7 separate regions of the Homo sapiens genome follow, and regions 2, 3, 4, 5, 6 and 7 are each linked to region 1. The links are contacts of gene promoters, found by promoter capture Hi-C in blood cells and fetal thymus (Javierre and others, 2016). All regions are on one chromosome and are shown on one strand. The core of a region is centred on a gene start or on the middle of the fragment in contact, and the rest is flanking DNA. Distances in the headings are between cores, read along the strand shown.

What was found. Contacts are between HindIII fragments. The CHiCAGO score rates a contact against its expected background, and 5 or more counts as called.
Region 2: a fragment that was not itself captured here is called in contact with the fragment with the promoter of FAM91A1 in region 1 in 1 of 17 cell types (erythroblasts); the score reaches 6.2 in erythroblasts.
Region 3: a contact is called between a fragment that was not itself captured here and the fragment with the promoter of FAM91A1 in region 1, in 1 of 17 cell types (neutrophils). The highest score is 7.6, in neutrophils.
Region 4: a contact is called between a fragment that was not itself captured here and the fragment with the promoter of FAM91A1 in region 1, in 12 of 17 cell types (total B cells, erythroblasts, M1 macrophages and 9 more). The highest score is 10.2, in total B cells.
Region 5: a contact is called between a fragment that was not itself captured here and the fragment with the promoter of FAM91A1 in region 1, in 15 of 17 cell types (megakaryocytes, M2 macrophages, M0 macrophages and 12 more). The highest score is 23.2, in megakaryocytes.
Region 6: a fragment that was not itself captured here is called in contact with the fragment with the promoter of FAM91A1 in region 1 in 1 of 17 cell types (megakaryocytes); the score reaches 5.2 in megakaryocytes.
Region 7: the fragment with the promoter of DERL1 here is called in contact with the fragment with the promoter of FAM91A1 in region 1 in 2 of 17 cell types (fetal thymus and monocytes); the score reaches 6.8 in fetal thymus.

Annotation. Positions count from the first base shown.
Region 1 is chr8:123,766,975-123,770,184 of GRCh38, forward strand. FAM91A1 (family with sequence similarity 91 member A1) reads left to right here and starts at 1,465. Exons shown (of 24, transcript NM_144963.4): 1 at 1,465-1,800. The coding sequence starts at 1,729. RefSeq lists a silencer at 1,651-1,800. The HindIII fragment of the contact is 7,175 bases long and covers 1-2,343 here.
Region 2 is chr8:124,412,257-124,415,553 of GRCh38, forward strand. No RefSeq gene overlaps it. Among named protein-coding and RNA genes, the nearest start is that of TYW2, 37 kb to the right of the region's middle. The HindIII fragment of the contact is 9,425 bases long and covers 1-3,297 here.
Region 3 is chr8:124,540,564-124,543,688 of GRCh38, forward strand. It overlaps NDUFB9 (NADH:ubiquinone oxidoreductase subunit B9), which reads left to right. Exons shown (of 4, transcript NM_005005.3): 2 at 2,524-2,716. Among named protein-coding and RNA genes, the nearest start is that of NDUFB9, 3.0 kb to the left of the region's middle. The HindIII fragment of the contact is 4,221 bases long and covers 1-3,125 here.
Region 4 is chr8:124,457,264-124,460,610 of GRCh38, forward strand. No RefSeq gene overlaps it. Among named protein-coding and RNA genes, the nearest start is that of TYW2, 8.1 kb to the left of the region's middle. The HindIII fragment of the contact is 3,465 bases long and covers 1-3,347 here.
Region 5 is chr8:124,440,138-124,443,444 of GRCh38, forward strand. No RefSeq gene overlaps it. Among named protein-coding and RNA genes, the nearest start is that of TYW2, 9.0 kb to the right of the region's middle. RefSeq lists an enhancer at 193-692. The HindIII fragment of the contact is 6,278 bases long and covers 1-3,307 here.
Region 6 is chr8:124,523,860-124,526,979 of GRCh38, forward strand. All of the region lies in intron 1 of TATDN1 (TatD DNase domain containing 1), which reads right to left. Among named protein-coding and RNA genes, the nearest start is that of TATDN1, 14 kb to the right of the region's middle. The HindIII fragment of the contact is 4,231 bases long and covers 1-3,120 here.
Region 7 is chr8:123,040,635-123,044,041 of GRCh38, forward strand. DERL1 (derlin 1) reads right to left here and starts at 1,668. Exons shown (of 8, transcript NM_024295.6): 1 at 1,336-1,668. The coding sequence starts at 1,488. RefSeq lists an enhancer at 1,078-1,617. The HindIII fragment of the contact is 6,787 bases long and covers 1-3,047 here.

The DNA.
Region 1 (3,210 bases), core at 215-2,714:
ACTTTGAATGAACATTGTCTAAATTGGAACAGGAGGTAGAAGAGTTCAGTGAGTGAGAGCCTGAGTTGGGGAACTGAAAGGATGGCTCTGGAGTGAGGATAGCCTTCGGCTCCAGTTTGGCTCTGTCAGTGCTACCTGTGTGATCTTGCGAGCAAGTCATGAAGCCCTGCCAAGCCTCAGTCTCCTCCTCTATCAAACTGGGATAGTAAGTGGTTACTGTTGTAGGAATATCAGGGTTGTGAGGAATAATCTATTGTCAAGTCAAGGCCTTAATACATGGCGGGCAGGTAATCAATATTTGTTGAATAAATGTCTCACGGTTAGAGTTCAGTTAACCTTAGCTATGCTGATGAGGATCTGTAAACATAAGGTTCAAAGCACTTATCTTTGGGTTATTATAGTTGGATAATAGGAGACCAAAACATCTAAGCAAGGGCAGTGTGTACTTGTCACCTTTATTTCATCAGACATAATGGGGTTTCTGCTAAGCATCAGACTTGCCAGCTGTTGAGGTGTGAGCTAGGTATCTTATAAAAAGTTCTAAGTATACATCTCCCAGTATATAATAAAACATTATTTAAAACCATTGTTAAAAACTGAAAAACAGTTGCAATAACACTGAACTTGTCTCTGGTTGCTGCCAGGAATAATGGTCACGGGTTTGCTAAGGCAGCGTAACAACTTCTGAAAGAAATTATTCCCAAAGACCTTATCACTCAATCTGAAATTAAGACATGCTGGATTTTTGCTTTTAAGTGACTCTGGAGGCATTTGTGTGGAGCAGAATAAAGCAGAAACCGACAGGCTGCATGACAAAGTTGGCAAGGGTATCTCTCTGTCAGCCCTGTAGGCTGCCTCGACCTGTCAGCACCACTGTTTAAAATTTCAGCTCCCTGAATCCCTGCATTGTAAGAATTTGGATCTTCTTGGGAAGTGGAGCCCAATGACGTGCAGCACACCGCGGAAGGGAAGAGGGCTTACCAGACCTTTGCTCTCCCACTGCCCATGCTTCTCGCTCAACCCGGTGCGAGACCTGACTTAGAGATTATTTCTTTCTCCAGGGCCCTGGACCCGTCCCCGCAACCCCCCGCCCCGTCTCACTGGCCCGGGTTCCGGGCTGGCCTGTGGAGAACCCCCGCGAGCGCACCGCACTCCAATGTAAAGCCAGCCACTGCCGGCCCGCTTCCCAGGTCGCTTTTCTCTGAAAACCGACCCCAGTGCCTCCGGCTTTACAATTTGAGTAAACTGGGTCATCAGCAACGGCAACGCAGACCCAAGCGACTATCGCCGTTCATTCAGAGACTGAAACGGGGAGACGAAGCGCGCGGGCGGGGAACGCTCACCCGGGCACCTCCCGGTACCTCGTCGTCGCCCCGCCCCGCAGCCTGTAGAGGGCGTGGCTAGAGGCCAGTCCGTGCCCCGCCCCTCCGGCCGCGCGCCAGCGGGCGGAAGTGACGTGTGCCCAGAGCCATTTCCGGCGGCCCGAAACTAGGAAGAAACTTGGAGCTGTTCAGGCGATCCAGCCTCCAATCGCTGCTGCTCTTGTACTCGGTTGGCCCGGGCGGCGCTGAACTGTCGGGAGCCTAGGCCATGGGGCAGCCTGGGCCTTCTGCAGTGTGAGGCGCGGGGCCTCCCGCGTCGCTCCGCTGACAGGCTGCGGGCGGGCAGGCGGGAGGCGTAGTGTGGGTCGCGGTGGCGGCCCCGGCCGCCGGCCCTGGCCGCGGCATCATGAACATAGACGTGGAGTTCCACATCCGGCACAACTACCCCTGGAACAAGTTGCCGGCCAACGTGAGACAGGTACGGCCGGAACCTGGGACCGGGCCCCTGACGGATTCGGCCCGCCCAGCGGTCACCTGCTTGCCTCGCTCGCGGGGCCCGAGCGGGCTGCTGCCGGCTGACTCCCTTCCTTTACTCCTCCGTGGTCTTGGGGAGACGGACCTTCAGCCCAGGGCGAGGAGGGGACGGCTGTGGGGCCACAGGGCCAGGACGGGGCGATCGCTAAATGGGATGGCATGGTGTCCACAGGACTCGACTGGCGCCTTTGCCCGCAGGATACATTCAGCCAGGCACCTGCGATAGAGATTTTAAACACGGTCCTTGACCTCCGGAATTTCAGGATGGTGGGAAAGGGATGGGAAACAAATGAATACGATACAGGATGATAGCAGCTCATACACACCTGCATTGTAGTATATGTGAGAGCAGAGGGAGGGAGAAATTATCCTGGGAGAGTTGGAAGGATTTTTAAGGCAGGCACTTAAATTGGGCCTTGGAGGACGAATAAGAGTTAAATAAGAGGGAATAAAGATTTTTCCAGGGGGAGGGAAAGTCATTTTACAAAGCTTGGATGAGTGAAAGAACATGTCTCATGAGTAGCAAGTGACTGTATCACCAGAGTTTGGACTGACATGTTTGGAGTTGAAGTTTTTTGAGTGCGCGGGGCTGGTAGCAGATGAGCCTGGAAAAGTGGTCAGGGCCAGATTTTGAAGGTGCTTGTGTGCTTTGTTTTGTTGGACTTTATCCTCCAGACAAGATGGGTTTATCAGAGATGTTTCAACAAGAGTGACATGAGGTTTTTGAAAGTTAATTCTCGATTTTTTTAGTCTGTTTTACTCAATTGTTTAATAGATATTTATTGACCACCTACTAGGTGCTGTGCGTTGCTCTAGGTGCAGGTAATTTGCAACAGTCAACAAGACAAAGACTGCCTTCATGGAGCTTACATTTTACTAAAGAAAGACGTAAACAAATAAATGAATAAATACGTAACATAGCAGATGGTTTTAAGTCTTACGAAAGTAGTGATATGGGCTACAGATAACGCACTGCTGCTCTGGTCATAGATTGACCTTCGCTTCCTCCCATTATACTTGGTCGAGAGTGAAATTCAGTTTTCTGTTGGCACTCGGCAGTGGCATTTTTGGGAAGTTTGGAATGGTGGCGGTGATGGTATATAAGGATTATTTATTTATTTTTATTTTTATTTTCATTTCTTTGAGACAGAGTCTCCTGTTGCCCAGGCTGGAGTGCAGTGGTGTGATCTCCGCTCACTGCAAACTCTGCTTCTTGGGTTCAAGCGATTCTCCTGCCTCAGCCTCCCGAGTAGCTGGTACTACAGGTGCGCGCCACCACGCCCAGCTAATTTTTGTATTTTTAGTAGAGACGGGGTTTCATCATGTTGGCCAGGCTGGTCTCGATATCTTGACC
Region 2 (3,297 bases), core at 371-2,870, 650 kb after region 1:
CAACAAAAGCCAAAATTGACAAATGGGATCTAATTAAGCTAAAGAGCTTCTGCACAGCAAAAGAAACTACCATCAGAGTGAACAGGCACCCTACAGAATGGAAGAAAATTTTTGCAATCTACTCATCTGACAAAGGACTAATATCCAGAATCTACAAAGAACTCAAACAAATTTACAAGAAAAAAACACACAACCCCATCAACAAGTGGGTGAAGGATATGAACAGACACTTCTCAAAAGAAGACATTTATGCAGCCAAAAGACACATGAAAAAATGCTCATCATCACGGGCCATCAGAGAAATGCAAATCAAAACCACAATGAGATACCATCTCACACCAGTTAGAATGGCGATCATTAAAAAGTCAGGAAACAACAGGTGCTGGAGAGGATGTGGAGAAATAGGAACACTTTTACACTGTTGGTGGGAGTGTAAACTAGTTCAACCATTGTGGAAGACAGTGTGGTGATTCCTCAAGGATGTAGAACTAGAAATACCATTTGACCCAGCCATCTCATTACTGGGTATATACCCAAAGGATTATAAGTCATGCTACTATAAAGACACATGCACATGTATGTTTACTGCAGCACTATTCACAATAGCAAAGACTTGGAACCAACCCGAATGTCCATCAATGATAGACTGGATTAAGAAAATGTGGCACATATACACCATGGAATTCTGTGCAGCCATAAAAAAGGATGAGTTCATGTCCTTTGTAGGGACATGGATGAAGCTGGAAACCATCATTCTCAGCAAACTATCGCAGGGACAAAAAACCAAACACCGCCTGTTCTCACTCATAGGTGGGAATTGAACAATGAGAACACTTGGACACAGAAAGGGGAACATCACACACTGGGGCCTGTTGTGGGGTGGGGGGAGTGGGGAGGGATAGCATTAGGAGATATACCTAATGTGAATGACGAGTTAATGGGTGCAGCACACCAACATGGCACATGTATAGATATCTAACAAACCTGCATGTTGTGCACATCTACCCTAGAACTTAAAGTATAATAAAAAAAAAATACTGACCTTCATCAATAAGCAGGAAAATACTTAGATAGGTACTATTTATTTACATTCTAATACATTTTACAGTTATTAAATACAACTGTCTTTGTACTTCTCTGCATTTTATTTTATGGATTTAAACTTGTGCAGCTCTTCCATTTACTAGCACAATGAACCAGAGCAAATTTCTTCCCCTCTGTTTCCTCGTGGATGAAATGAAGATTAAAAATGTGCATCACAAGGTTGTTACGAGAATTCACTGAGATGATTTTCATAATGAACCATAGAGCACCAGGCTCATAGTAGGTACCTAACAAGATATTCTTTCCATTGCCTGTCTCCCAAAACTCTTATGATTATGGAGTTCTTAATGAATTTCAAGATAATAATTGGTGTATGACATTATGACATTTTCCAGACCTGTGTACTGTTATTAAATCTTAATTGTAGCTACTGCTAAAAATATCTAAGACCAGTTGCTTAATCTGACTTTGACCTTGACATATTTAAATACTGACAGGGTGTTTGGAAGCCTAGTTTCAGTTTTGACTAGTGTTTTCTGAATAGCTTTGGGTAAATAATTTATTGTTTCTATCTAAAACAATGGTCCCTTGCCTTTGCATAACTTTCAGTACATAAGTTTGAATGTAATTTATAAAATTGAGATGGTTATTAATAAGAATAAAGAGATAAGGTGTTTTCTCAGAAAGCATGCATAATTAATATTATTGCCTTAATGATTAAATTGTACTTAATGAACCATATTCTGCCAGAGTCTGAAGTAGTCCCTTGTTAATTAGAATAACCTTTGAAATCATTACCTTTGGGTGTCTATTTGATATCAGCGAGGCGTGACATATTAAGTAGCCAGGTTATCCAGGCTCCAAAGATCAGTGCATTATAAATCACCAAGTATTTATGAAATGCCTACTTTTCTGTAAATTCCTTGAGAGCAGCAGCCATATATTTTTCATCCCCTACCATTTATGAATCACAGTTATCTGAGATGTATTAAATTTAGTGGCTTCTCTTCAAGGATTTATAAGGAAGATACGAAAATTGCAAATGGGTTTTTTTTTTACAATGGTTTCCCTTAACATAGTTTTCTATAGAAATGTATGCATATGTGTATTTCTATACAAATGCATAACTTTTACATAAGTAATTATATAAATGAAAATGGTAATAAAAATATATTTGTAATATGTAACATATTACTCTCTCTCTCTCTCTCTCTCTCTCTCTCTCTCTCTATATATATATATATATATATATATTTTTTTTTTTTTTTTTTTTTGAGACAGGGTCTTACTCTGTCACCCAGGCTGGAATGTAGTGGCACAATCTTGGCTCATTGAAACCTCCACCTCCCGGGTTCAAGCGATTCTCCTGCCTCGGCCTCCCGAGTAGCTAGGACTACAGGCGTGCACCACCATGCCCAGCTAATTTTTGTATTTTTAGTAGAGACGGGGTTTTCCCATGTTGCCCAGGCTGGTCTCGAACTCCTGACCTCAAGTGATCCACCTGCCTTGGCCTCCCAAAGTGCTGGATTATAGGCATGAGCCATCACACCTGGCCAATATACACTTATAAGTATATGACATAGTAAATATGCAATGCATTATGTTTCTAACTTAGTCCATAAACTTGAAGTGATCCCAAAATAAATAAAGCAACCAAATTGCTACTTCCTTTTGAGCATAATTACAATATTTAAATTTGTTGACTCATTTTTTTAAGAGACAGGGTCTAGCTCTGTTGCCCAGGCTGGAGTGCAGTGGCATGAACACGGCTCACAGCAGCCTCAACCTCCTGGGCTCAAGCGATCCTCGTGTGTTGGCTCCCTAGGTGCTGGGAACTAGGTGTGAGCCACCATACCAGGCCCATATATTTTAATATATAACAAGATGCCTAAGGATCATCACTAGGCCAGGTTTCCCTCCAAAGTGAATCTTTGGTTCACAACCACTATGTAAATCCCCAAACAGGATGGTGAGACTGAATTGGGGGAAAAGAGAGAGACAGAAAGCATAGGGAGTTGCCGTGAGTCACACTCCAGTGGCAGAAAAGGGACCAGGAGACTTTTGGTTTGTATTCCTCTGGCTCCCAGGAAATAATATTGGTAATAGGCTCTGCCAAAGTCAGTGTTGATGATTTATAAAGTGTCTATCTCTTGTACATCAGGTATTTATGACGCAGAGTCTATGGGATGTGTAGTGGATTTATCCACCAGACAGAAAGAAGTTCTGGATTTCAAGAGTGACTGCCCTGAAATT
Region 3 (3,125 bases), core at 14-2,513, 770 kb after region 1:
TCAAAAAAAGTTAAACATGAAAAAAAGAATTCAAGCAATACTGAACTATAGCTGGGAATACTAAAGTCCATAGTTCTAGAGGAAAATGATATAAACTAGCTACTATGACAGTTATGGCTCAGCATTTTTTAGATCTGACATTCTTTCTCAATCCTTGCCTTAATTTCTTCCTCCATTTGCCCTCATTGTGCTGTTCTCTGTGGTTCCATCCTAGGCATACTGTGTTGTTGTATGTACTCGGGCAGCCTCATTTAGTGCTGTCACCACCTGCGCTCATTTGTCTCTAGAGCTGTAGTTCGAATTGCTTGTTAGATCACGACTGTTGGCTGGGCATGATGGCTCACGCCTATAATCCCAGTACTTTGGGAGGCTGAGGTGAGTGGATCACCTGAGGCCAGGAGTTCAACAGCCTGGCCTACATGTGAAACCGCGTCTCTACTAAAAATACAAAAATTAGCCAGGCGTGGTGGTGGGTGCCTGTAATCCCAGCTACTCATGAGGCTGAGGCAGAAGAACCGCTTGAACCTGGGAGGCAGAGGCTGCAGTGAGCCGAGATAGCCCCATTGCACTCCAGCCTGGGCGACAAGAGTGAAACTTTGTCTCAAAAAATAATAATAAAAAAAAAATTGAAAAGATCACCAACCGTTCTCTCAATCTCCATTTATCTAAATTCTTTGAAATCAAACTTGTTTTCCTGTCACTCCCCATTCTGACTCTTTTCCCAAATTCCCTGCCTCCGCTAATGGTATTATTAGTAATTCAGTTACTGAGCTTTAAGTCTCAGAATTGTTCTCAAGTATTTGCTCCTTATTCCTTTGCCAATAACACACATACTCATACACCATGTATAATTAGACACTGGTTTTTATAAATTCTCTTTCCAGTATGATATTAGTAACTGACATTATTTAACACTTGGGATGTACCAGGCACTTTTTAAAGTGTGTTTATCTTATTGACTGTTTATGACAACCTTAAGATATACACACTGTTATTGCCACTGTTTTACAGAGGAGGAACCCGTGGCCTAGAAGACTTTTTTTGTTTGTTTTTTTGTTAGACGGAGTTTCGCTTATGTTGCCCAGGCTGGAGTGCAGTGGCGCGATCTTGGCTCACCGCAAGTTCCGTCTCCCGGGTTCAAGCAATTCTCCTGCCTCAGTCTCCCGAGTAGCTGGGATTACAGGCATGCGCCACCACGCCTGGCTAATTTTTGTATTTTTAGTAGAGACGGGGTTTTGCCATGTTGGCCAGGCTGGTCTTGAACTCCTGACCTCAGGTGACCTCCACCTCAGCCTCCCAAAGTGCTGGGATTACAGGCGTGAGCCACCGTGCCTGGCCTTTTTGTTGTTGTTGTTGTTGTTTTTTTTTGAGATGAAGTCTCGCTCTTGTCCCCCAGGCTGGAGTGCAAATGGCACAATCTCGACTCACTGCAACCTCTGCCTCCCGGGTTCAAGCTATTCTCCTGCCTTGGCCCCCAGAGTAGCTGGGATTACAGGTGCCTGCCACCACGCCCGGCTAGTTTTTGTATTTTTAGCTGAGACGGGATTTCACCATGTTGGCCAGGCTGGTGTAGAACTCCTCACCTCAGATGATCCCCCTGCCTTGGCCTCCCAAAGTGCTGGGATTACAGGCGTGAGCCACCATGCCCGGCCTCATTTTTGTATTTTTAGTAGAGACGGGGTTTCTCCATGTTGATCAGGCTTGTCTTGAACTCCAGACCTCAGGTGATCCACACGCCTTGGCCTCCCAACGTGCTGGGATTACAGGTGTGAGCCACCGCACCTGACCAGAAGACAGTAACTTACCCCAAGTTACACAGCTAGTAGTGGCAGAGCTAAGATTCAGGCCCATACAGTCTGACTGGAGAGCCTATTCTCATAACTTGGAAGTCTCAATGTCTCCCCTGTCTCCTGTCACCATCACAGCTCCGTACTTTCAGGCCCTCGTCAGCTGTGTCCTAGATTATTGTCAAAACCTCCTAACTGATCTTTGCCCAGTTTCTTTAGAACTTGACTTTAACTTGCCTAAGTTTATGCAGCTAGTGTCAGAGTCAGGATACAAACCTAGCTCTGTATGAGCTAAGCAATACTGTTTCTGCCAAGTAACACCTTTCTTATTCATCTTTGTATCTCCAGAATTTAGCATAGTGACTAGCACAAGATAGAAGGAAATGGAAGTTGTCATTCAATGAATGTTGAATGATCCTGCAGAGGTTATAGCTTTTCTCTTGCGAATGCTCTTTTCTTTTTTTTTTTTTTTTTTTTTGTTTAAATCCTCATTCCATTGTTGGATGTAAGAGGAGAAAAATGGTTAGGGTATATATTTAATACAGTATTTTTTTGCTGCTGCTGTTTGGTGGGCTGTAGAGGAAGCAGCCATGATGATACGGCTGCTCCATTGGGAGGGTTGGGGTAGGTCCACTGCCCATCCAGAAGGTATCAGAAGTGCAGCCTCCTGTCAGACAGCAACACTGACCACGTGAGTAGGTAACATTTCTAATCTTCAAAATCATTTTGGTTTAAGAGACAAATACCGATACTTTGCTTGTTTGATGAGAGCCCGGTTTGAAGAACATAAGAATGAAAAGGATATGGCGAAGGCCACCCAGCTGCTGAAGGAGGCCGAGGAAGAATTCTGGTACCGTCAGCATCCACAGCCATACATCTTCCCTGACTCTCCTGGGGGCACCTCCTATGAGAGATACGATTGCTACAAGGTAGGTGAGAATTATGATGACTGCCTTCTGAGAAATAGACTTTGTTTCTTCAGTCCCACACCTCAGCCTCAGAAATCACTTGCCCTTCAAGGGGTAGCTAGGAGACTTATTTCCTGACAGTTGTCAGATGCAGGCCTACCTCATTTTATTGCATTTTGTTTTATTGTGCTTGGCAGATATTGTATTTTCACAGATTGAAAGTTTGTGGCAACCCCGTGCTGAGCAAGTCTGTGGGCACCATTTTTCCAACAGCATGTGCTCACTCCCTGTCTCTGTTTCTCAGTTTGGCAATTCTTGCAATATTTCAAACTTTTTTTTATTATTACTCTATCTACACACAGTTGTGGTGAACTGTGATCAGTCACCTTTGATGTTACTATTGTCATTGTTTTGGGGCACAAAAAAACCA
Region 4 (3,347 bases), core at 450-2,949, 690 kb after region 1:
CCTGATAGAGATATTGTGATTTTTAAAAAATAGTAATTTTTAAAAACTCCCTCAAACTTGAGCTGCTTTATTAACTTTGTAATTTAAAAAATTATATGAGTGCAGTAATATATGAGTACAATATGTGCCTTTGAAATACACAAATAGGCCAGGTGCGGTGGCTTATGCCTGTGATCCCAGCACTTTGGGAGGCTGTGGCAGGTGGATCACCTGAGGTCAGGAGTTTGAGACTAGCCTGTCCAACATGGCAAAACCCTGTCTCTACTAGAAATACAAAAATAAGCCAGGTGTGGTGGTGGGCTTCTATAATTCCAGCTACTTGGGAGGCTGAGGCAGGAGAATCTCTTGAACTCAGGAAGTGGAGGTTGCAGTAAGCCGAGATTGTGCCACTGCACTCCAGCCTGGGCAACAGAGCAAGACTCTGTCTCAAAAACAGAAAAACCATACACGAACAGAAATTAAAAATAGTAAGAAACAAATAGAATTTAAATTTCATTTTCTCCTACCCTGGGCATACATGTGACAAAATCCAATATATATCACTCTGAACAGCCTCAGGGTACAGCCACTTTATATTGCACAAGCTGTAAAAGTAGTCATTTTCAAACTCAACTATTATTTAAAATGATTACAAGCATTTAAAATGTTTAAAATAAAGATCCAACCCTGTTCACTTGGGAAACAGTTGTGGCAGTTCCTTAAAGTGTTGAACATAGGGTTAGCATATTACCCAGCAGTGAATTAACCAAATAAATAAGACATATGTGATAGAGGTATATATACCCAAGAGAATGCAAACATATGTCCACACAAAGGCTTGTGCGTGAATATTTGTAGCAGCATTATTCATAGACAAAATGTGGAAACAACCCAAAGTCCATCAACTGATGAGTGGTTAAACAAAATGTCATATATATACAATGGAATCTGTAAAAAGGAATGCAGTACTGATACATGGTTTCTGGATGAACCTTGAAAACATTATGCTGAGTGAAAGAATCCAGTTGCAAAAGGTCATTTATTGTATGGTCCCATTTATATGAAATGGCCAGAATAGGCAAATCTATAGAAACAGAAAGTAAGTTCCCAGGTGCTGGGGGGAGTGGAGAATGGAGAATGACTGCTAATAGGTACTGGGTTGATTTTGTGGGAAGATGAAAATGTTCTGAAAATAGATGGTGGTGATGATTGCACAACTCTATAATATATGAACCAGCCATTTAATTGTATATTTTTAAAGGGTGAATTTCCCTACTTGCTTCAGCAACATATATACTAAAAGGGTGAATTTTATAGTATGTGAATTATATCTCAATAAAGCTGTTAAAAAAAAAAAAGCAAAGAACTTGGAAACACTTCCTACAGGAAGGAACACCAGAGCTGCATTTTATTATTTTTAGGGTCTTGCTTTGTTGCCCAGGCTGGAATGCAGTGGCGCAATCAAGGTTCACTGCAGGCTGGGTGCAGTGGCTCACACCTGTAATCCCAGCTCACGCCTGTAAACTTTGGGAGGCTGAGGTGGGCAAATCACACCTGAGGTCAGCAGTTTGAGACCAGCCTGGCCAACATGGTGAAATCCTGTCTCTAATAAAAGTACAAAAATTGGCCAGGTGCGGTGGCTCATGCCTGTAATCCCAGCACTTTGGGAGGCTGAGGCGGGTGGATCATAAGGTCAGGAGTTCCAGACCAGCCTGGCCAAGATGGTGAAACCCCATCTCTACTAAAAATACAAAACTTAGCCAGGGGTGGTGGTGGGCACCTGTAGTCCCAGCTACTCGGGAGGCTGCGGCAAGAGAATCGCTTGAACCCAGGAGGCAGAGATTGCAGTGAGCCAGTATCACACCACTGCACTCCAGCCTGGGTGACAGAGCAAGACTCCGTCCCCCAAAAAAAAAAAACATACGAAAATTAGTGAGACATGGTGGCAAACACCTGTAATCCCAGCTACTCAGGAGGCTGAGGCAGGAGAATCGCTTGAACCCGGGAGGCGGAGGTTGCAGTAAGCGGAGATCACACCACTGCATTGTAGCCTGGGTGACAGAGTGAGACTCTGTCCCCCACCAAACAAACAAACAAACAAACAAAAGACTTACTTGCAGCTTTGACCTCCTGAACTGCAATCCTCCTGCCCCAGCCTCCTGAGTAGCAACCTCCCACACACCCACCCCCCCAAGTTCAAGTGATTCTCCTGCCTCACCCTCCCGAGTAGCTGGGATTACAGGTGTGCACCACCATGCCTAGCCAATTTTTGTTTTTAGTGGAGACAGGGTTTCACCATGTTGGCCAGGCTGGTCTTGAACTCCTGACCTCAAGAGATCCACCCACCTCAGCCTCCCAAAGTGCTGGGAATACAGGTGTGAGCCACTGTGCCCACCCATAATTTTTAATTTTTTTTATAGATAGAGGGTCTCACTATGTTGCCCAGGCTGGTCTCGAACTCTAGGGCTCAAGTGATCCTCTAACCTCAGCCTCCCAAAGTGCTGGGATCACAGGCATGAGCCATGGTGCCTGTCCTAGAGCTGAATTTTGAATAGAATCAACTATGTAAAGGCAGAGGAAGTGAGGGCCCCTTAACCTCTTCTCCAAGATAAGCTATTTGTCTCATTGAAACTTTCTTTTGAATCTTACAGTTACCATTGTGTGTTTCCTATAGGCCCTTCTCCAGATTCTCCAAGTTGTTCCCAAGAACCTTTTCACTGGGGCCCAGAATTGACTCACAGTATCCATCCCAATTCCCCTTTCTCTTAAAAAGGAGAAGCTGGAAAACTCAAGTACTAAATTTCCCAGCCTCTCTTGCACAGATAGTGACCATGTGAACCAGTTCTGGCAAGGAGCTGCAGGCAGAGGTCCCCGGGGAGGGCTTTGGGTCTCTGACCCTGGAGATGTAGCAGCCATCTCTCCAAGCATGCTAAGACTGGCAGAGCAGCATTGTAGGACTGATTTCTTAAGGGGATCTTTGATCAGCTACACAGCCCTGAAATGTCTATCTCTGCACTTGTCATGTGAAAAAATAAAAAAATAAAATAACCTGCAATCCCACCCCCAAGTCTATTTAAGTCACTGTGCGAATTTTTTTTTAACTTACAGGCAAGAAATATTTCTACCTGATATTCTGAGTACTAGATTAACCAAATAAATTAGACATATATAATAGAAGTGAGTAAATAAAAACTGAGTGGGAATGCTCACAGAGCTCATACCACCCAAAACAGGGCATCTTGAAATCAGTTCTTTTTTTCAGGTGTTTCATCGGTTAATGCTTCCATCCAGTGAAATAAAAACTTCATTCAGCCTTGAAATTAATTTATCCATGACTCCAAGGACTGCGTTTGGTCTTTTTTTTTTTT
Region 5 (3,307 bases), core at 735-3,234, 670 kb after region 1:
GTTCGTTTGTTTTGAGACGGAGCTTCGCTCTTGTTGCCCAGGCTGGAGTGCAATGGCGCGATCTCGGCTCACCTCAACCTCCGCCTCCGCTTCCCGATTCTTCTGCCTCAGCCTCCGGAGTAGCTGGGATTACAGGCATGCGCCACCACGCCCAGCTAATTTTGTATTTTTAGTAGAGATGGGGTTTATCCATGTTGGTCAGGCTGGTCTGGAACTCCCGACCTCAGGTGATCCGCCCGCCTCGGCCTCCCAAAGTGCTGGGATTACAGGCATAAGCCACCGCGCTAGGCCATAAGGGATATTTAATGGAGATGCACTGACAAAACCTGTGGGGCCCTTGAGGCGCCCTGGACATCCCTCCATCTGAAGGCCAAATACCGGACATTCCTCACCACCCTCAGCTGCCTCGGTGCAGGTGCCTGCTGCCATCTAGTGTCCATCTTTTAGAACTACACCACTGCTTTGGGACATGAACTATTTTTCCTTCCGCACTTTCTTTTTTCATTCATTCATTCATTCATTTGTTCATTTATGAAAGGAAAATAAAACCTCAGGATCTCGATTTAGCCTACCAAAAGGAAAAAAGAATAAGCCAAAAGCCGAGTCACGCAAGAAGCTGCCTTTTCTTTTGTTCCTAAGCAGATGCTACAGATAAAAGGCCAGATATCTCCAGCTGCTGGTTGTCCACCTTATCTTATCAAGTGCCGATTTACTGAGCATGAGACAAATACATAACTGACTATTCCCCTACCTGTTCCTTGTCTCTTGCAACATGTGGATTCTGTGATGTGACTGGACCTTCCCTCTTTCCAGCCTGCTTTTCCCCTTTAGATATTGAAGCCCACAAAATCATCTTTGGAGAAAGGCACAGATCGCAGACTGTTTCTGTGGTTTCTATATTCCCTTCTTCTGGCGTGTGCCTTACATTGGCTTCTAAACTTTACAAACTTCTAAATTGACTGAGACTTGTGTCAGACATATTTTGGTTGACAAATTGGCATCCAACAGAAGGGACTCTGAGTGGAGGTGGTCCTGACTGTTGAGAAATCTGACTTTGGTGCTTGGTACCAGCCCGGGCTACTTTTATTGCTCAAACTGTTACAGGAAAGGGGTCTGGAGCCAGACCACAGAGTGAGTTCTTGGATCTCTGACAGGAAAGAATTCTGGGCCAGTCACAGAGCACAGTGAAAAAAGCAAGTTTATTAAAGACTACTCTATTACAGAGTAGGGCATCCTCAGAACTAACAACAAGAGGAGGCCAGGCACCGTAGCTCACACCTATAATCCCAGCACTTTGGAAGATGAGGTGTGACAACTGCTTGAGACCAGGTGTTCAAGACCAGCCTGGACAACATAATGAGACTCCATCTCTACTAAAAATAAAAAAAATTTGCCCTGCATGGTAGCATACCTGCAGTCCCAACTGCTAGAGAGACTAGGCAGTAGGATCTCATGAGTCTGGGATGTCAACGCTGCAGTGAGCCATTATTGTGCCACTGCACTCCTGCCTGGGTGACAGATAAGGCTTGTCTTGAAAGAAAAAAAAAAGGAAAAGAAAAAAAAAAGCAAGAGTAGGACTCTGAACACAAATAAAATGCTATATAATAAGGGAGCTGGCCAGGCATGGTGGCTCACACCTGTAATCCCAACACTTTGGGAGGCCAGGGAGGCTGGATCACTTGAGGTCAGGAGTTCAAGGCCAGCCTGGCCAACACGGTGAAACCCTGTCTCCATCAAAAATATAAAATATTAGCCAGGTGTGGTGGCGTGCACCCATAATCCCAGCTACTAAGGAGGCTGAGGCAGAAGAATCATTTGAACCTGGGAGGCAGAGGTTGCAGTGAACAGAGATCATGCCACTGCACTACAGCCTGGGTAACAAAGCGAGACTCTGTCTCAAAAAAAAAAAAAAAAAAAAAAAACAAGAAGAAGAAAGCAAGCTAAGAATAATAATGAACTTATGTGCTTTATTATAAAGGCTTGTGACCAGCTTGTGACAGGCTGATGTTATCCTCTTGTGTAACTATTGAGTTCAGCAGGAATTTAGGGATATACTATTACCTATTAGTATAAGAAACCTATTATCTATTAATATAAGAAGCCTATTCTTAGACTAAGAATACTTTTTGGTCTTGAGATATCAGGACTTCAAGACTTTCTGTTAAGTTCTGGGTCTTGTTTACTTATCATTAACTCATTCTCTCAACCATAAAGGTCCTGTGAAGGAGAGTGCCTAGCTTCCTGGGAATGGAATCCAGCAGGTTTCACTTCATTTGGCCTTATTCAAGACGGAGTCACTCTGGTTTGGACACCTCTGATATATTTTCCTCCTCCCTTTTATAAGGGGATCCTTAATTCTAAGGGGTACAGAGGGACAGAGGTCCATCTTCATAAATGTCTTCAAGGTGAACAGGAGCAATGATATTCCTCCCTAACCACTGGGATCCCTTGTATTTAGATTGGAGAGGAGTTCACTCAGCAAGTGTTGGCGTGGTGAGGACCAATCATTATTGTGACTTTCAACAAAAGGTGAAATCTGGAAAATTAGTAAGTGTTCAATTTAAAGAAGCTATTTAATAGGTTTACCTTGTTTTCTTTTCTTTTCTTTTTTTTTTTTTTTTTTTTTTTTTGACGGCATTTTGCTCTTGTTGCACAGGCTGGAGTGCAATGGCATGATCTCGGCTCACTGCAACCTCCGCCTCCCAGGTTCAAGCGAGTCTCCTGCCTCAGCCTCTTGAGTAGCTGGGATTACAGCTGTGTCCCACTATGCCCTGCTAATTTTGTATTTTTAGTAGAGATGGAGTTTCACTACGTTGGCCAGGCTGGTCTTAAAACTCCTGACCTCAGGTGATCCGCTTGCCTCGGCTTCCCAAAGTGCTGGGATTACTGGTGTGAGCCACTGTGCCTGGCTAGGTTTACCTTGTTTTCTTGCACAAAAATTACAACAGCAATACATTCCACAGCAACAAAACAGAATCTGTTCCAAGCATCTGAACAAAAAGGTTTTCCATGAACCAGACAATTGCTGGAACCACCCTGATATGGGGTCAACTGACAGTGTGTTAATGGCAGAGATATGGGTGTCTAAGTCCTTCATGGCCTGAGTAATATTATGTTAATATTATGGAATATACAAACAACATTCCATTTTGATGATAGCACAAGATCTCCCTTGAGCCGCTGTTAAAATGTCCAAAGCCATGCAGTTTCGTAAGGCTACCTGTCTAATTTGAGAAGTCTCTTCAGTTAGTAGGATAATGGCATGCTGTGTAGTATTGAAAGCTGTAGCTGTATGTTGGAATACAGA
Region 6 (3,120 bases), core at 74-2,573, 760 kb after region 1:
TTGTTTTTAAAATACTGGATGCAACAGAAAGCTCTGTTCTGCTGTAGAATATAAGGGAACATGGGGAACAACAAGATATGAAGTCAGACTGTGACTGGTCACAGGCAAGAAAAAAAAATGCCTCCCTTATTGAAAATACACATAATTTAGCTTTTAGCAGGAGGAGAATCTCAAAATTTGCGGTGGTGGTAGGCAGCTGATTACCAACAGACTCCCTACATTATTTCTGCCAAGTTTCAGCTTCTTGGTATGTTCTCATTCTAATTTCTGCCAAGTTGGTCCCCAGGAGTGTCTGCTCCACCAATAAGACACACCTTGAAAGTGAATGGGAGTTTAGAAAATTTAAGAGACAGTGAAGAGAGTATTCCAGGCATTTGAAACAATAGGGGAAAAAGTAAAATGCAGAAAACTACAAAGATATTTGGGCACTAACATGTCAACAAAGATGGGTGGGATGTGGTACCCTTTAAAAGGGCTATTAACATATAAACATCATCTAATACTATACATACAATATAGAAGTTTGGTGGAATGGCCCAATCCAAAGAATTACTATCTAGTTTCTTTATAAGTAAGTACAGGAAATTAGATAAATGGGGCAGACTGAGAAAGGAAACCCAGGGAAGAGGGGAGAGGCCTTTCTGCCTAAAATAATCCTTCAGAGAGGTTTAGTCTAGGGTCACCGATCATCACTGATCATTAGGAAAACAGAAATGGTCTGTATCTCTTCTAGACCATTTCCCCTTTGTGCAGTGTTAAGCAAACAATTATTCATAACACTTGTCAAAGACTCTGAGGAAGCCTTTATTCAAGAGAGACTACTGACAGAAGGGAAGGTTTTGCAGAAGGGGGAGGGACTGGGCTCAATTTTGAATACAAGGACAAGTGAGGATTTATTGCCACCAAGTAGAATGGGGATCAACAGATGAAAAATTACTAAGAGGAAACATCAAAGGTGAGGGAAGATTCTGGGTTTACTCAACTTGATGGATTTTTGCTGAAGGCAGGCCAGAGTGTCAGGATATTCTGCTTGAGGATTTGAGATCTGGGATGGGGGAAATGAGGGATGAGAAAGGTCTATAGGTCCTGGCTGATGAGGAAAGCAGGTCCTACGTCCCAGTATAGTCTCTGGGTTTATCTGGGCAGACAGAAATGCAGGAAGACTCCTTCAAAAGTCCCTTGACCCAAGTGCAGTGAGAAGCACTTAAAGGCCATGCAGATGTAGACAGTGGTAATCACAGCTGACCACCCACCATCCTTCCACACTTTAGCATCATCCTAATCTTTTTTTTATTTTTCTTTTTAAGACAGAGTCTCACCCTATCGCCCAGGCTACAGTGCAGTGGCACAATCTCAGCTCACTGCAACCTCCACCTCCCGGGTTCAAGCAATTCTCCTGTCTCAGCCTCCCAAGTAGCTGGGATTATAGGCGCCCACCACCACACCCAGCTAATTTTTTGTATTTTTAGTAGAGACAGGGTTTTGCCATGTTGGACAGGCTGGTCTCGAACTCCTGACCTCAGGAGCTCCACCCACCTTGGCCTCCCAAAATGCTGGGATTACAGGCATGAGGCACCACGCCCAGCCAGTCTTAGTAAATTCTTGTACCCTCGCACTGCTGGCCCAGATAGTCACAGCTCACCCGCAACAAATAAGTGAGTCTTTCTGAGCCTCAGTTTTCTCACTAGTAGGGTGGACATAAACTTTCTCCTTCCAGCAACAAAATGTGGCTCAAAACCAAAAACAAATATGAAAGCATTTTGCAAATTAAAAGTCTTATTAGCATGTAATTATTGGGAACACTGTTATTACAAACACTGTAACATGCCAACAACAAATGGAATTTGAATCAGCTTTAGCCATACTGTCATACCACCTTAAGTGGTTAAGGCTCCCGATCCAAGAATGCATTATCAAATAGCCAAATGTGAGTCAATATGTTTTGAACATTAAGACTCATGATGTAATCATGAAAACAAAGCCACTCAAAATCCTATTTATTTAATTTGTTCAAAATGTTCTTATCTATGTTAAGGGATAGTGAGAAACAAAAACCTTGGATCTGAGAAATGCAAGCACCTTTAAATGATCAGGCCCAGAAAGGCATTTAAAATGTTCACAGCAGTCCAAGCTCACTCCCCTTTGAGCTACATAATTACTTCTTGAAGCCGCTTGCTATGTGGGCTCTAGACTGACGCCAAGTGGCCCTAAAATGCCATACACCCTATAGTTCAACAATACATAGCCAATCACTAACCAATGTTATTTCTGTAAACCAATGAGAATCCCTGATTAACCATTTTTGTAACCGCGCCCCACCTTTTGATTTGTCCTTTAAAAATTTGAGCCTCTCTTTTGTTCTCTGGAGCACTCCCCAAGGCAACTTGGAAGTGTGTCCTGGGCTGCAGTCCTCAACTGTTGTGCTTGAATAAACTCTGTAAACTAGATTCTGACCTTTTTGGTTATTTGAGGTTGACAATAGTATCTTTTAAATTAAAAGTCTCTATTAGACATAAGCCTATTGGCATGTAAACTCAAACAAACTAGACAAATACTGTATGAAAACCAATGTCTAGCCAGATCCAGCTAAAGATAGTAAGTAGCTTGAAAAGCTAAGAAAGTAAGAGATACGGGTGGGAGGGAATGATAGGAACAAAAACAAGGCAAAGTGGAAAATTGCTACTTCTCATTAGGGGAGAAAACTGAAGGATTCATACATTCAGTAGCATGTCACCCTATATAGATCAGTAATGTTTCTTTTTCATTAATTTTCTTCAAATAGCTGGCTTGAAAAGCAGCACCTACTTTATTATTTAAGAGTTCTTCAAATATTGACTTTTCGTTTTCAAAACAAAGTAAGAGTAGAAAACGGCACTGTTTGTAACCAGGAGAAAACCACAACTCTTAAGTTGAAGCCTCAGTTATTGGGCTCACTGAATCGTGTCACATCACTGTCACCTATGATCTAGGAATACAAAGGGACAGCAAATAAGGCACAATTTGTTTTTTAGATATTGCTAGTCTTTAGATATAACCCCGAGTTTATAGCAAATACGGGGGATTAGAGAACAAGCTCAATGACACTACTATTTAGCAAACAGACAAAGCCAGGAGACAGAC
Region 7 (3,407 bases), core at 418-2,917, 730 kb before region 1:
CTGTCTAGAGAAAAGATGGAAAGGAACCAGATTGCAGTGATAATGGCTTGCAATGGAGAATGAAAAGGGATTGTATTCTGGATATATGTCTCAAGTAGAGTCAATAGGATTTGCTGACAGATTGTGGGGTGTGAGAAAAACAAGAAAAATAAAAGATGACTCCGACAATTAACTTCAGCTCCTCTAATAACGGAGTTGCTATTCACTTCTAAGGCAAAGGGGGAAAGGGGATTCAGTTTTGGACACGTTAAGATGAAGATGACTCTTAGTCATCCAAGTCGTGATTTCAAGTAACTGCTGGATGCACAAATCTGGAAATAGGGAGACAGATCTGGACTGAAGATATTTATATTTATATTTCAGAATCTCCAGTTTATAGAAAGTATGTAAAGCCCTGAGGCTGAATGAATGAGACCACCTAAAGCTAGGGAGAGTCTATAGAAAAGGTCCTATAACTGATTCCCAAGGCACATCCTAACATTTAAAAGTCAGGAAGATAAGGAACCAGCAAAGGAAACCAAGAAGTAACACCCAGTGAAGACAGGGAAAGACAAGAAAATGTTATCCATAGGCCAAGTAAAGGGCTGAAATTAATGCCAGATCTTGCTATCTGACCTGCCACTGATTGAAGTTTTAAATCAGAAATTGGTGAATACAGATAACCTTCAGAAAACTGGCACTCTCTTGACAGAAATGTTACTCTGGACTGTTTCCTTCATGCTTAAGAAAATAACAAGGCCTTCCATTTCTGGACAAATGTACTCTTTGCCCATTCCTTCGTACATTCTATTACTACGTGGGGGACACTAAATTAGGTCTAGAGGGAAATGCAGAACAATACACTCGTTCTTTGTATCTCTGACTTTAAATCACTCCTATAGGAAAACCAAAACAAAAAAACTCCATAAACGTGAAAGGAACTCAGCTATAAGTTGGTGAAGTTGACACCTACAGGCCACCCACGTGGGTGACAGAGGGAGGTCAGAGGGCAATGCTCCAGGCGGACCTAATCGCCAGCGTCCAACAGATTGACAACTACCAACGACTAATCTCACTGCTTCCTTCACTGAGTGCGAAGAGCGGGAAGCACAATCTCACTATACCAGTGAAGTCAACCCCTCCCCACCAGGCCAGCCCACAACTCCAGCTATCCAGCACCCCGCTCCAGATCCCAGAGCCTCCCCGGGCCCAAAGGACCCCGCCCTAAACCGCCGGCGCCGGACCCACTACAAATCCCAGCAGGCACCGCGCGCCCGCAACATGCCAGCCTACGCTTAGCCGCCGCTGGGCCTCCTGGGGCCTGTAGTCTCCACGCCCCCCGTCTCCGGTAAGTACCTGAAAGCGATAAAGGAAGGCTTCGGGCCAGAGGAAGAGGTAGGCCGGGCTGATGAGGCCGAGTTTGCCGACCAAGGGCACGGCGACGGTGGCGGCGAACCAATAGCGCGTGATCGCCGGGATGCTCCTGAACCAGTCTCCGATGTCCGACATCTTCGACCCACAGGTAGCCAAGATGCACAAGACCGCCCGACTCCCCGTGCCGACCCCCTCACGACGCGGCCGGCTCCGCGACTGTTAGGTGTCTAGGTGGAAGCCGCCGAAGCCGCGATGCAGAAGGCGGAGACGGGCGGACGTGGCGCCACCGAATTCGGACCAGCGAGGCAGCCTTCTGAGGCGAAACTTCCCCTTCCGGCGACCGCGGACGACGTGACCAGAAGTCCCGCCGCTTAAAGGGTAAGCGCCGATTTTACCGCCCGGCCGAGGCTCGGCGTCCTGGGGGGCGGAGCCAGGTAGAGCGACTACACGACTGGTGGGAAAACAGTGGTTGCCTGGATCAACGGCAAACGCTCCGGCCAGTGGCGAGGCCAAATGCCATTCACCTAGTTCTCAGAGTTTTAATGCGGCTGGGTCCACCTGGAGGGTATTTAAAGGGGACGAAGGCAAACGAAGTGTCTAGTTCCTCGTCTGCTTACTCATTCCACAAGTGTTTGTTGGGCACAGTTCTAGACACTGGGCAGCTGCGGCTGTCAGCGCTGTCGTGGTACCCTCTCTCCTGATCTTAACATCCTCATTGGGATAATTTATAAACAAATAGATAATGAAGTAAGATAATCTCAGAGAGTGATTAGAAAAATAGGAAAATGAAATGAGATGATGAGGTGGAGTGACGGGGTGGGGGTGCGGCAGTGTGAGGACAGATGGCTACCTTAGGTATGAACTGGGCCAGCCAGGCAAGAGATCTGGGGGAAGAATTTTCCATGCACAGAGAAAAGCCGCTCTAACTAGGTTGGAATGTTGGAGGAACTAAAAGCCAAAATGATCCATCTTGTCTAATTCAACTTGTATAAGAAGGAATCTTTAAGAAAAGATACTGGCCAGGCGCGGTGGCTCACGCCTGTAATCCCAGCACTTTGGGAGGCCGAGGCGGGCGGATCACGAGGTCAGGAGTTCGAGACCAGCCTGGCCAACATGATGAAACCCCGTCTCTACTAAAAATACAAAAATTAGCCGGGCATGGTGGAGGGCGCCTGTAGTCCCAGCTACTTGGGAGGCTGAGGCAGGAGAATCGCTTGAACCCGGGAGGTGGAGGTTACAGCGAGCCGAGATTGCACCATTGCACTCCAGCCTGGGGGACAAGAGCCAGACTCCATCTCAAAAAAAAGAAAAAAAGAAAAGATACTGAGTAGAGTTTCCCGTTGTTTTGGGATTTGGGGCCAGCAGTTTAAGATTGCTAAAGTCTTCCAATAAAGAGCACCAGGAACAAACCTGTAGTCAACAAAGTTAGATTTATTAACTTGCTGCAGCAAGGGAGACTGCACTCCAGAGGAACCTCAATGCCTCTCATCAAACGGAAGTGTCATTATTGGGTTATGGGAATGGGGGGATTTTTTGGTAAGAATTAACTGGAGCAGTGTTTGATAGACTCGAAGCAAAGCAGAGCTGTGTGCAGCATCAGGTTAACATCAGACCTGAGTAGGAAGCAGGCTCTTTCCTTGGAAATCTCAAAATTACGACAAATGTGAAACGTTGGGTCTGAAAACTCTATCTAAAGCTTTGTACCTGTATTGAAAATCCTGTGTCAAAGTGACCTGTATGGCTCAGATGCTCTGGACAAGAATGGGATGTTCCATTCACACGGAAAGGATGTCAGACAGCAGAGTTTCCAACATTCCATAATTTTAGAGAATATTTGTCAGCACCATATCCTTGATGTTAATTAATAAAAACAGTTTTTTCATAACAAAAAGGCATTAAATATTCCACAGTGTAATGAGAGTATACAACATTTGGGAACCAATGGATAGCAAATCTACGAAGAACACAGCTGGTGGGAATATAAATTGATACAGCCTTACAAAAAGATAATTTTGATATAAAAGCTAGATATTTATATAAATAACAGATAATAC